3 separate regions of the Homo sapiens genome follow, and all the other regions are linked to region 1. The links are contacts of gene promoters, found by promoter capture Hi-C in blood cells and fetal thymus (Javierre and others, 2016). All regions are on one chromosome and are shown on one strand. Each heading gives the region's core, a stretch centred on a gene start or on the middle of the fragment in contact. The rest is flanking DNA. Distances are from core to core; before and after follow the strand shown. Region 1 holds the start of NKIRAS1 (NFKB inhibitor interacting Ras like 1). Region 2 overlaps RAB5A (RAB5A, member RAS oncogene family). Region 3 holds the start of KAT2B (lysine acetyltransferase 2B).

Evidence for each region. The method cuts DNA at HindIII sites, captures the fragments that hold promoters and counts their contacts. A CHiCAGO score of 5 or more calls a contact.
Region 2: a contact is called between a fragment that was not itself captured here and the fragment with the promoter of NKIRAS1 in region 1, in 1 of 17 cell types (activated CD4 T cells). The highest score is 5.5, in activated CD4 T cells.
Region 3: the fragment with the promoter of KAT2B here is called in contact with the fragment with the promoter of NKIRAS1 in region 1 in 2 of 17 cell types (naive CD8 T cells and total CD4 T cells); the score reaches 7.5 in naive CD8 T cells.

The regions. Positions count from the first base shown.
Region 1 is chr3:23,914,991-23,918,318 of GRCh38, forward strand. NKIRAS1 (NFKB inhibitor interacting Ras like 1) reads right to left here and starts at 2,000. Exons shown (of 5, transcript NM_020345.4): 1 at 1,794-2,000. It overlaps RPL15 (ribosomal protein L15), which reads left to right and starts at 2,142. Exons shown (of 4, transcript NM_002948.5): 1 at 2,142-2,183; 2 at 2,860-3,041. The coding sequence starts at 2,870. RefSeq lists enhancers at 1,604-2,403, 1,655-2,854, 2,784-2,883. The HindIII fragment of the contact is 19,179 bases long and covers 1-3,328 here.
Region 2 is chr3:19,953,208-19,956,535 of GRCh38, forward strand. The region is part of intron 2 of RAB5A (RAB5A, member RAS oncogene family); the gene reads left to right. Among named protein-coding and RNA genes, the nearest start is that of RAB5A, 7.8 kb to the left of the region's middle. The HindIII fragment of the contact is 6,610 bases long and covers 1-3,328 here.
Region 3 is chr3:20,038,575-20,041,902 of GRCh38, forward strand. It overlaps KAT2B (lysine acetyltransferase 2B), which reads left to right and starts at 1,872. Exons shown (of 18, transcript NM_003884.5): 1 at 1,872-2,206. The coding sequence starts at 1,904. RefSeq lists silencers at 1,134-1,773, 1,944-2,073, 2,274-2,333 and enhancers at 1,497-2,467, 3,184-3,328. The HindIII fragment of the contact is 5,734 bases long and covers 1-3,328 here.

The DNA of each region.
Region 1 (3,328 bases), core at 750-3,249:
AGTGGTCTGGGTGAGGCACCATGTTCTCTCACCTGGTCTCTCAAAGATATCGTAATCCCCCAAACCTGTGAATATGTTTACTTTACATACTCATACAAGAATTTTGCGGGGGTGATTAAATTAAGAACTTCCATACGAAGATATTATCCTGAATTATCTAGGTGGGCCCAGTGTAATCACAAGTGTCTTTATAAGAGACACACAGGAGTGCTGGAGAGGACAGAAGGTGTAATTGGAAGATGCTCCTTTGCTGGCTGTGAAGATGAAGGAAGCAGTCAGGAGCCAAGGAATTCAGGCAGGCTTCATAAGGTGGAAAAGCCAAGGAAATAAATGTACTCTCCCCTAGTACCTCCAGAAGGAACACAGCCCTACTGACTTTGGTTTTAGCTTGGTGATATTTACAGATTTACAGACCTAGTCTGATGTACAAACTAAAAGACGGTAAATTTGTATTATTAACCAACAAAGTTGCTGAAATTTGTTACAGGAGCAATGGAAGACTAACACAATTTCCTAAGCAGTCTCTCTGCTTCCATTTTTTCTCTCCTTTTAGCCTCAAAAGGAGCAATCCGAGTTATCTTTTTAAAATGTACGCCATATGAAGTCATCCTTCTGTTCAAAATCTGCCAATGAAATCCAAAGTCCATGTGAGAACCTTCACCTCTCCGACGTCATTTCCCACTTTCCCCTACTGTGAATTTCAGCCACACTGCTTCCCTGCTGTTCCTCTATTAATCTTGCATGCTCCAGTCATGGCTCTTCTCCCTCTGCCTGAATCAGACCCCTACTCTTACTCCCAGACTCCTATCCTTGAAGTCCTTTCTTAAATGTTACCTTCTCTCAAAGACTTAACCTGGACACTCCATTCCAAATTGCAACCCTCAGCCGCTAACACTCCCTCATCACTTCCCTCCCCTTATCTTTTTTCCTTAGCATTTACCACCAAACCCAAAACACAGCTTACTTCTGCTTACTGCCCATTTCCAAGAAGGCCAAAAATTCTGCGTTGTTTCCTGCTGCATCCCCAGCAACTATGCCTGGCACATATTAGACACTTAATAAATATTTGTTGAATCAATCAATGAACCAGATAGAGACTCTTAAAAACGTAAAGCTGTGATTTAAAAAGAAAGAAAGAAAAATATGATGTGGGAAAAAAGATAATCAAAACCGCTACGATTAAGAGATAATGATTCTCTTAAGCCTTTGCCACATCTGAACGCATAATCTGGAAGGAAATTAAAGCCACATGACTTAAATTAAAGCCAAGTGAAAATATTCTGGAGAAACAAAGTAAGCCAGTAACCTATTTCTCAATTTAAAAAAAAACCCGCAACGCAAAATGCCAGCATTTTCTCGGCATTTCTTCTCTAAAACATTCACACCTGCCAAACAGGTCTTGGCAAATAAACATTCTGCTCTTCTGAAAAACTGTGGTTCTCATGTTAGCAAATTTGGGACGAAATCCGTATGCAGAAAAAGCGCCGGGCCGCCCGCAATCCACCCACTCCATGACCCTTTTTTAGGACAAAATCCCTGGGCGCTGGGGCCTGCTGGAGGAGCTTCACGCAGTCTGGAGCTGAAGGGACACAGCGAGCGCCCCGACCCGCGACGCCCCGACTCCGCGAAGGCCTCCCTGGGAGGCTGGGGAAGCGTCGGGGGATCTCTCAGCGCAGCTCTGGGGCCCAGATTTCTGCGCCCGTCGTGCGGTGGCCAGAGAGGGACAGCGCAGCGCGGAGACGCGGAGACGCAGAGACTCCGCAGGGGGAGAGCCCGCGGTGCGTGAAACAAACCTGTTCTCTCCTCAGACCTCAAAGACAGCGGCTCCACCGCGGTACGCGGCCACCGGCTTTGGAGCCTGGACCCCAACTTGCCTCCTCTCGCGGAGAGACAGTCGCCGACGCTCGCTTAGCCGCCGAGACCTCGCCGCCAACTCTCTCACCTCTCGAGACGCCCAGGCCGCTCAGGCTCGAATCTTGCGGAGCAGGGGGCGGGACAATAGCGGCCGCGGCGCCCCACTCGGCAGAACTCCGCCACCAGGCGCGATGCCGGAACTACATGTCCCATGACGCTCTGGGAGGCCGCAGCTTTCCACCGGAAAGAGGGTGGCTGAGGTGGGGGAGGAGCCCAAAAGGCATTGTGGGAGTACAGCTCTTTCCTTTCCGTCTGGCGGCAGCCATCAGGTAGGCTGCGTTGAGGATCTTTGCTCTTCCATCCGCCTTTGATCGTCTTCCTCTTCAGCCATCCAGGTCCGGGGACCCTGCGTCCTCGGAGATAGGTCTCCCTCCTGTGCGGCCAGAGTTTGGTCAGGATGCGGGACAGCAAAGGGGTGGAGAGGCGGCCCCCGGGGCGGGTTGAGCGAAGATGTGATGGCGGCGCGAATTCGAGCTGGGCCCGGATCCTGGAGGAGGCGTGGGGCTGACGAATGGGGCGCCCGGGACAAGGCAGCCTAAAGTGAGGCTGCTGGTTGGGTGGGGTAGATGCATTTTCCTCGAGAGTTAATCCTCGGTGGCCGCAGCAGTACCTTGTCCTGTGATGTCAGCGGCATCTCCTTTCAGGTCCTCCTTGGGGACGCCGCCTGCCGCAGCCACCCGCCCCCTTGGTGCTCAGTTCTGGTTCTGTTAATTCGCCCCACCAAAACGTGCCGAGCACCGCTCTGTGCTGGGGTTGCGGAAGTGACTGAACGCGGCTCCGTGGGCGCAGTGGTGGGGGTTGGGCTAGCTGTCCCCGGCAGTTGGTGCAGAGCCATTTTCATTCCCGGCGGTTTCCTTGTTTTTGTTGGGGAACTAAGATGGACGGATACAGTCGTCTTATTGTACTTAAAGCGGATGATATTTAATACACAGTTTGATTTCACAGGTAAGCCAAGATGGGTGCATACAAGTACATCCAGGAGCTATGGAGAAAGAAGCAGTCTGATGTCATGCGCTTTCTTCTGAGGGTCCGCTGCTGGCAGTACCGCCAGCTCTCTGCTCTCCACAGGGCTCCCCGCCCCACCCGGCCTGATAAAGCGCGCCGACTGGGCTACAAGGCCAAGCAAGGTACGTGATCGACTGCGTGGATGCTTGGATAAAATTATATTCGAGAAAAGTTGGAAACCAGCTGTTAGGAAGACACTGCTGCCTCAGTGTCTTTCTTCGCATAGGGCTTTGGCAGAAAAAAGCTAGCAACACTGGTCAGTTACTGTATGCACTGTTGTCTAAAGTGGCAAGTGTGTCAAAGGTTACAAATCTGAATGAGTTCAGACTAAAGCAAAATAAACAGTGTGCCTCCCTGTGTGAGTAGCCTAAGGTGCATTGAAAAAGACTGGGATGTGTTTTATTTTTTT
Region 2 (3,328 bases), core at 215-2,714, 4.0 Mb before region 1:
ATGTTTAAAAGAAAAATGTAACCCCATATCCTGTGTATCATAAATATATCTCTGATATGTGTGTATCTCTATATAATCTCCATGTAACACCAGTTAGATTGTCTAGATTTCATTAATGAATTTTTCATAAAGATTTTCATTTCTATGTGTAGAGCTTCCTGTTTAAAAACAAAAAGGAATTTGCATCCAAATTTCTGTTAATCCTTTTTTTTTTTTTTTTTGGAGACAAGGTCTCTGTCGCCCAGGCTGGAGTGCAGTGGTGTAGCCCTGGCTCACTGCAACCTCCGCTTCCCAGGATCAAGCAATTCTCATGCCTCAGCCCCCCAAGTAGCTGGGACTACAGGCGCAAGCCACCACTCCTGGCCAATTTTTGTATTTTTAGTAGAGATGGGGTTTCACCATGTCGGTCGGGTTGGTCTTGAACTCCTGGCCTCAAGTGATCTGCCTACCTCGGGCTCTCCAAGTGCTGGGATTACAGGCATGAGCCACTGCCCCTGGCCCAACTTTCTGTTAATCTTTATTGGATACTTTTTCACTGTGCTGACCCCATGTGAATACTATTCAGGAGGTATGACAGTACCATTATGGTTATAGCTGTGGACACTATTCTTTTATGCTCTGTACTCATAGCTCTTCACCTTTAGGAACTAGAGTAGATGTAAAGCATTTAAGAATTTTAAGGTTTGAGCTATTTCATGATCAACCTGAAAGGGCCATAACTTGTAGGTAATACGTATTTTTGTTTTGACTGTCATGTGGTAGAAGTTACCTGAAAAATGAAGCCAACCAACTCTTTTGCATTTCAACTGTTGGTTTATTTTTTTTGAGACGGAATTTCACTACGTGGCCCAGGTTGGAGTGCAGTGGTGTGATCTAGGTTGACTGCAACCTCTACTTCCCAGGTTCAGGCAGTTCTCCTGCCTCAGCCTCCTGAGTAGCTGGGATTACAGGCCCACACCACCAATCCCAGTGAACTTTTGTATTTTTAGTAGAGACAGGGTTTTGCCATCTTGGCCAGGCTGGTCTCAGACTCCTGACCTCAAGTGATCCACCTGCCTCGGCCTCCCAAAGTGCTGGAATTATAGGCGTGAACCTCCACGCCTGGCCTCAACTGTTTAATTTTTCACTTTACTGTTTATATCTCCTAACATGAGTTATTGTTCTGAAGCACTCAAAATTTTAATCTCTATTTGATTGTGTTCGAAGGTGGATATCATATGTTACACTCTTGATTTGTGGATTCTGGATTCATTAAGAATATCAAGATTTCTTCTGTAATTTGTGTGGTTCTTCCTAAATACAATAACTTGATTTACGAATTCCTGTTGCGCTGTGTGCGGTGGCTTGCATCTGTAATCCCAGCACTTTGGGAAGCTGAGGTGGGCAGATCGCTTGAGTCCAGGAGTTTGAGACCAGCCTGGCCAACATAGCAAAACCCCGTCTTTACAAAAAATACGAAAATTAACCGGGCATGGTGGCACACACCTGTAGTCCCAGCTACTGAGAAGGCTGAAATGGGAGAATTGCTTGAACTGAAGAGGCGGAGGTTACAGTGAGCCGAGACTGCACCACCACACTCCAGCCTGGGTGACAGTGAGAACCCTGTCTCAAAAACAAAACAAAACAAAGAATCCCTGTTGCCTCACCATACTTCATGCATCCTACCCCTATAGCACTTCTGATGAAATTGCGTGCCGTAGATTTAGCAATTTAGAGAATTCTAGCTTGTTTGTATGGGTTTAAAGTTTGCATGACATTTATGTTTCTATTGTTGGTCTAAAGTTAGCCCAGAGATTAGCAGGGAGCAGTAGGCTCAGAGAGTTGTCTTCCTTCTTTACTTGGTACTGCATCTCTAGGCTTGGTAGCTCTTCAGTAAATACTCTCAAAAAATACTTATTTTTAAGAAGACATTTATGTGATATTTATAAACAAATTAATCCTCAGTGGTTAGAATATGCAGTGAAATAGCAAGCAGACAATCCTTTTTTTCTCTTCTGAGAAAAGTGCTTCATACCACAGTTACAATTTTGTATGCACTAATCAAAAAATGTGTTATAAACTCTAAAGTTTAGATGATGGAACTGTACATGAAAATAACATTCCTCTTGCTGGTTCTGTGATTTTTGTACATTAGCTTAGAACAGTGGTCCTCAAAGAGCGTTCCCACTTCCAGAAGTAGCTGCATTAACTAGGAACTTGTTAAAATGTAGAATCCCGTGTTGAATCAAAACATTTGGGTGGGACCAACAATCTAGGTTTTAATAAGTTTTCCAGATGATTCTAATGGCATGTTACGTTTGAGTAGTTGATTTTACATTGGTACTAACATTGATTCACCCATACATGGAATAATTGGGGGGTTTTTTTGAGGTGTGGTGTTTGTCAGATTTTTAAAAACATTGTTGACTGGGCGCGGTAGCTCATACCTGTAATCCCAACACTTTGGGAGGCTGAGGCGGGCGGATCACGAGGTCAGGAGTTCGAGACCAGCTTGCCAATGTGATGAAACCCTGTCTCTGCTAAAAATACAAAAATTAGCCAGGCATGGTGGCGTGCGCCTGTAGTCCCAGCTACTTGGGAGGCTGAGGCAGGAGATTCGCTTGAACCCAGGAGGCGGAGGAGGTTGTTGCAATGAGCCGAGATCATGCCATTGCACTCCAGCCTGGGTGTCTCAGCGAGACTCCGTCTTAAAAAAAAAATTGTTCATGCAACTAACCTAGTTTGAGAATTACATGTATTATGTACTGCTCACATTACATGTTATCTGTATCTCTTTATAGGAGAATGCCTTCCTGTTAGCCACCTGCCAGACATCTTTAGGAAAGTATGATCCCTCTGTCCAATCAAGAGTATTCTGCTTTTTCTCTACTTAGGGAGTACCCATAGTTTTCAGTCATCTGTACCACTGCTGCTCTCCTTTCTTGTCACAAATGATCAAGGCCTGATAATACACAAAATTAATTAAGAAATTTAGTGTAGGCCGGGCGCAGTGGCTCATGCCTGTAATCCCAGCACTTTGGGAGGGTGCCAGCACACTGGCAGATCACGAGGTCAGGAGTTCGAGACCAGCCTGGCCAACATGGTAAAAATACCAGAATTAGCTAGGCGTGGTGGTGGGTGCCTATAACCCCAGCTACTCAGGATGCTGAGGCAGGAGAAACATTTGAACCCAGGAAGCGGAGGTTGCAGTGAGCCGAGATCGCGCCATTGCACTCCAGCCTGGGCGACAGGGCGAGACTCCGTCTCAAAAAAAAGGAAATTTAGTGCAATTATTAACTCTTAAGTGAAGTGCTGTTTCTACTTACATATTTAACATCCATCTAAATTG
Region 3 (3,328 bases), core at 622-3,121, 3.9 Mb before region 1:
TCTCAAGTGGATCATTCCATCAGTTTGACAAATGCCTGCAAGGTGGAACCCAAGCTCTTATTAGTATCTGTTAAATCCATGTTAGAGGTTGATCAGAGAAGCACAGCCTTTAAGACTCTCACCCTGCTTTGCGGAGAATGGCAAAAATCTGCGAAACATCTCAGCAGAGCCAGGAGAGAGTAACACTGGTAACGTGAAGCACGTCAAGCTAAGAAAGGAAGCACTGAAATTAATTGTCCTGAATGGAACCTGATAAGAATCTGCCATTTCATCCCCTCAAGACTGGACTCAAGTTGGGAGAGAATATTGCCTTTTGCCCTGTCTAAGCTAATATCACTGTTTAGATCTACAAACTCCCCCACCTCCCAATGTTTATATATTAACCTGCATTACAAGTCAAAATAACACAGAGAATCTGGAAAAAGAAGAAGGGGAATGTTTCCCACGAAAAGCACACCCCTTAAAGCGTCTGGCCTGAGAGCTATACAGCATGCATAAAATCTGATAATAAGCACATTATGACCCACATTGCATATAACAAAAAGTAGGGCACTTCTGAAGGGTCCTGAGAAAAAGCCCTGGGCTTTTAAAACCTGCTTAAGAAGGCGATCAACGGTACACCACTTTCAAACGCAGCACTGACTTGTATGCTCCACAGTCATCAACAGTGAAAACAACAGTTTTCAACAAGAGTTGGAAACACTGAGTTGAGGGTTTTTTTTTTCTTTTTAAAGTTTGAGGCCAAAATCGATATTTATTCTTTTGAATTATGCTTATATCTTTTTCCTGGTTAATACGCACGCGGTGGCACAATTTTGAAAACTACGTAACGTTATAGAACCACCACCCAGAAACGAATCCTGTTAACAAACTTTTTGTATTCAAACTTTTTCCACTGCATAGTTTTTGACAATGCTTTTTAGACAATCTTTCTTTTAGCAACCAGCACTTTCAAACAAAAATTACAGAGAATAGTAAGTTTTTTTCCCCTCCTCCGGCAGATTTGACCCAGAAATTGCTATGGGAAGAAAGTGTTAATTATATTAAAAAATAGTTTGACAGAAAGTATTTAAAAAGAGAAAGGGAGAACATCACGTCTTTATTTTGGTGAATTAGCAACAAAGAAAAAGATTAGCATGGACGGGTACTTTTCAAAAATATATTTTTTTTCCTCTGGCTCCCGCTAGGGTGGAGGAAGTTGTCTCTCTGTCAGAGACAGGGTGGAAGAGAGTGAAAGGACAAATGATTGAGAGGCTGCCCCCTCCCACTGGTGCAGGCGTGCGGGGGTCGGATGGGGGGCCGCGGAGGGGGGAGGTGGCCAGCAGGTGCCTGGGCTCCAGGCCCCTACCCCCACCCTCGTCCCCACCCTCACCCACACCCAGGGATTGGCCTCGCCCCCTGGCGGGCGAGCGGTAGGTGTCGAAGCACTGGGGTGGGGGGTGCAAACCCCGCGGGCAGCGGAAAAGAGGCCGTGGGGGGCCTCCCAGCGCTGGCAGACACCGTGAGGCTGGCAGCCGCCGGCACGCACACCTAGTCCGCAGTCCCGAGGAACATGTCCGCAGCCAGGGCGCGGAGCAGAGTCCCGGGCAGGAGAACCAAGGGAGGGCGTGTGCTGTGGCGGCGGCGGCAGCGGCAGCGGAGCCGCTAGTCCCCTCCCTCCTGGGGGAGCAGCTGCCGCCGCTGCCGCCGCCGCCACCACCATCAGCGCGCGGGGCCCGGCCAGAGCGAGCCGGGCGAGCGGCGCGCTAGGGGGAGGGCGGGGGCGGGGAGGGGGGTGGGCGAAGGGGGCGGGAGGGCGTGGGGGGAGGGTCTCGCTCTCCCGACTACCAGAGCCCGAGAGGGAGACCCTGGCGGCGGCGGCGGCGCCTGACACTCGGCGCCTCCTGCCGTGCTCCGGGGCGGCATGTCCGAGGCTGGCGGGGCCGGGCCGGGCGGCTGCGGGGCAGGAGCCGGGGCAGGGGCCGGGCCCGGGGCGCTGCCCCCGCAGCCTGCGGCGCTTCCGCCCGCGCCCCCGCAGGGCTCCCCCTGCGCCGCTGCCGCCGGGGGCTCGGGCGCCTGCGGTCCGGCGACGGCAGTGGCTGCAGCGGGCACGGCCGAAGGACCGGGAGGCGGTGGCTCGGCCCGAATCGCCGTGAAGAAAGCGCAACTACGCTCCGCTCCGCGGGCCAAGAAACTGGAGAAACTCGGAGTGTACTCCGCCTGCAAGGTACGCGCTCGCCGCTCTCGGACCGCGGATGGGTGCTAGGGGCCCAGCCCGCGGGACCCCCCTCCCCCTCCCGCTTCCACCTCCGCCTCCCGCCTCCTGCCTCTCGCCTCCCGCCTGGGGCCGCTGCACCGCGGAAGTGCTCTTGTCGCCCGCGCCCAATTAGCTTCTTCTTGGATAAGAGTCCTGCTGGGTTTGAAGAAGGGGGATCACTAAGACGGAGAGCCCTTCATTCCTTCCGCTTGAAAGGAGTAGCTTCGGCATCCGAGCTCCCGGGCTACCTTGGGGTTTTGTTGCTCTGTAGGAGCTCGCTGGAGTCACTTTCCCGGGAGTGGAGCGGTGCTCTCCATGTGGCGGGTGACCCAGGGGCAAGGAAAAATCTTTTGGGGGACTGAGTGGTCCCTTCTGCAATCGATCCCTTCCTGTGTCCCACTGGGAGGAACTGGGTGCAAGGAGTGGGGGTGGAGAAGACTCCCGGACTCCTGGCGCTTTGGGAAAGCGAAGGGGAGGAAAGCGCGGGGTGGGAAGGTGGGCAGAGTCCGAGGCGAGGGTCTTGTGGTGCCTGGCGCCCTCGGCTGGGGGCGGAGGCACTGCCGCGCGCGGTGACAGCCCTGTCATTATTGTATTATTACTTGTTTAGTTAAAACGCTGTCCCAGCTGCTCGAGGTGTAAACAGGATTTGGCAAAGTGACAGCCCAGCGCGGCGGGCGCTACTGCTCAGTTTGAGGACACCCATTTCTTGCTACCCACTCTCCATGCCAGTTTAGGCACCCTGTCACCTCCAGCTGCAGATCCAGATGTGGAGGCTGTGTTCCCGAGGTGGGAGGATTGCCCGAGGCCGCGGGGCAGGCTGGCCCTGCGCTGTCAGCAGCGGCTTTGTTTTGACAGGGTGACAGCTGAGGGGGGCGGGGACTTGGCCTTGTCAGCTCCTGCGGCCTGTGGCTGAGGCAGGGAAGAGACACACTCACACACACTCACACCTCCCTGTATTCTTCCTGCCTGCTGTAAAGAGGGTCAAGTTCCCAGATTCCAGATTCCCGATTGTCACAACCAAGCTGCAGTGACCACTTCTGAATTTTGACATAACTATAATTTATTCTACTAGAACATCTAGGTTATACTCTT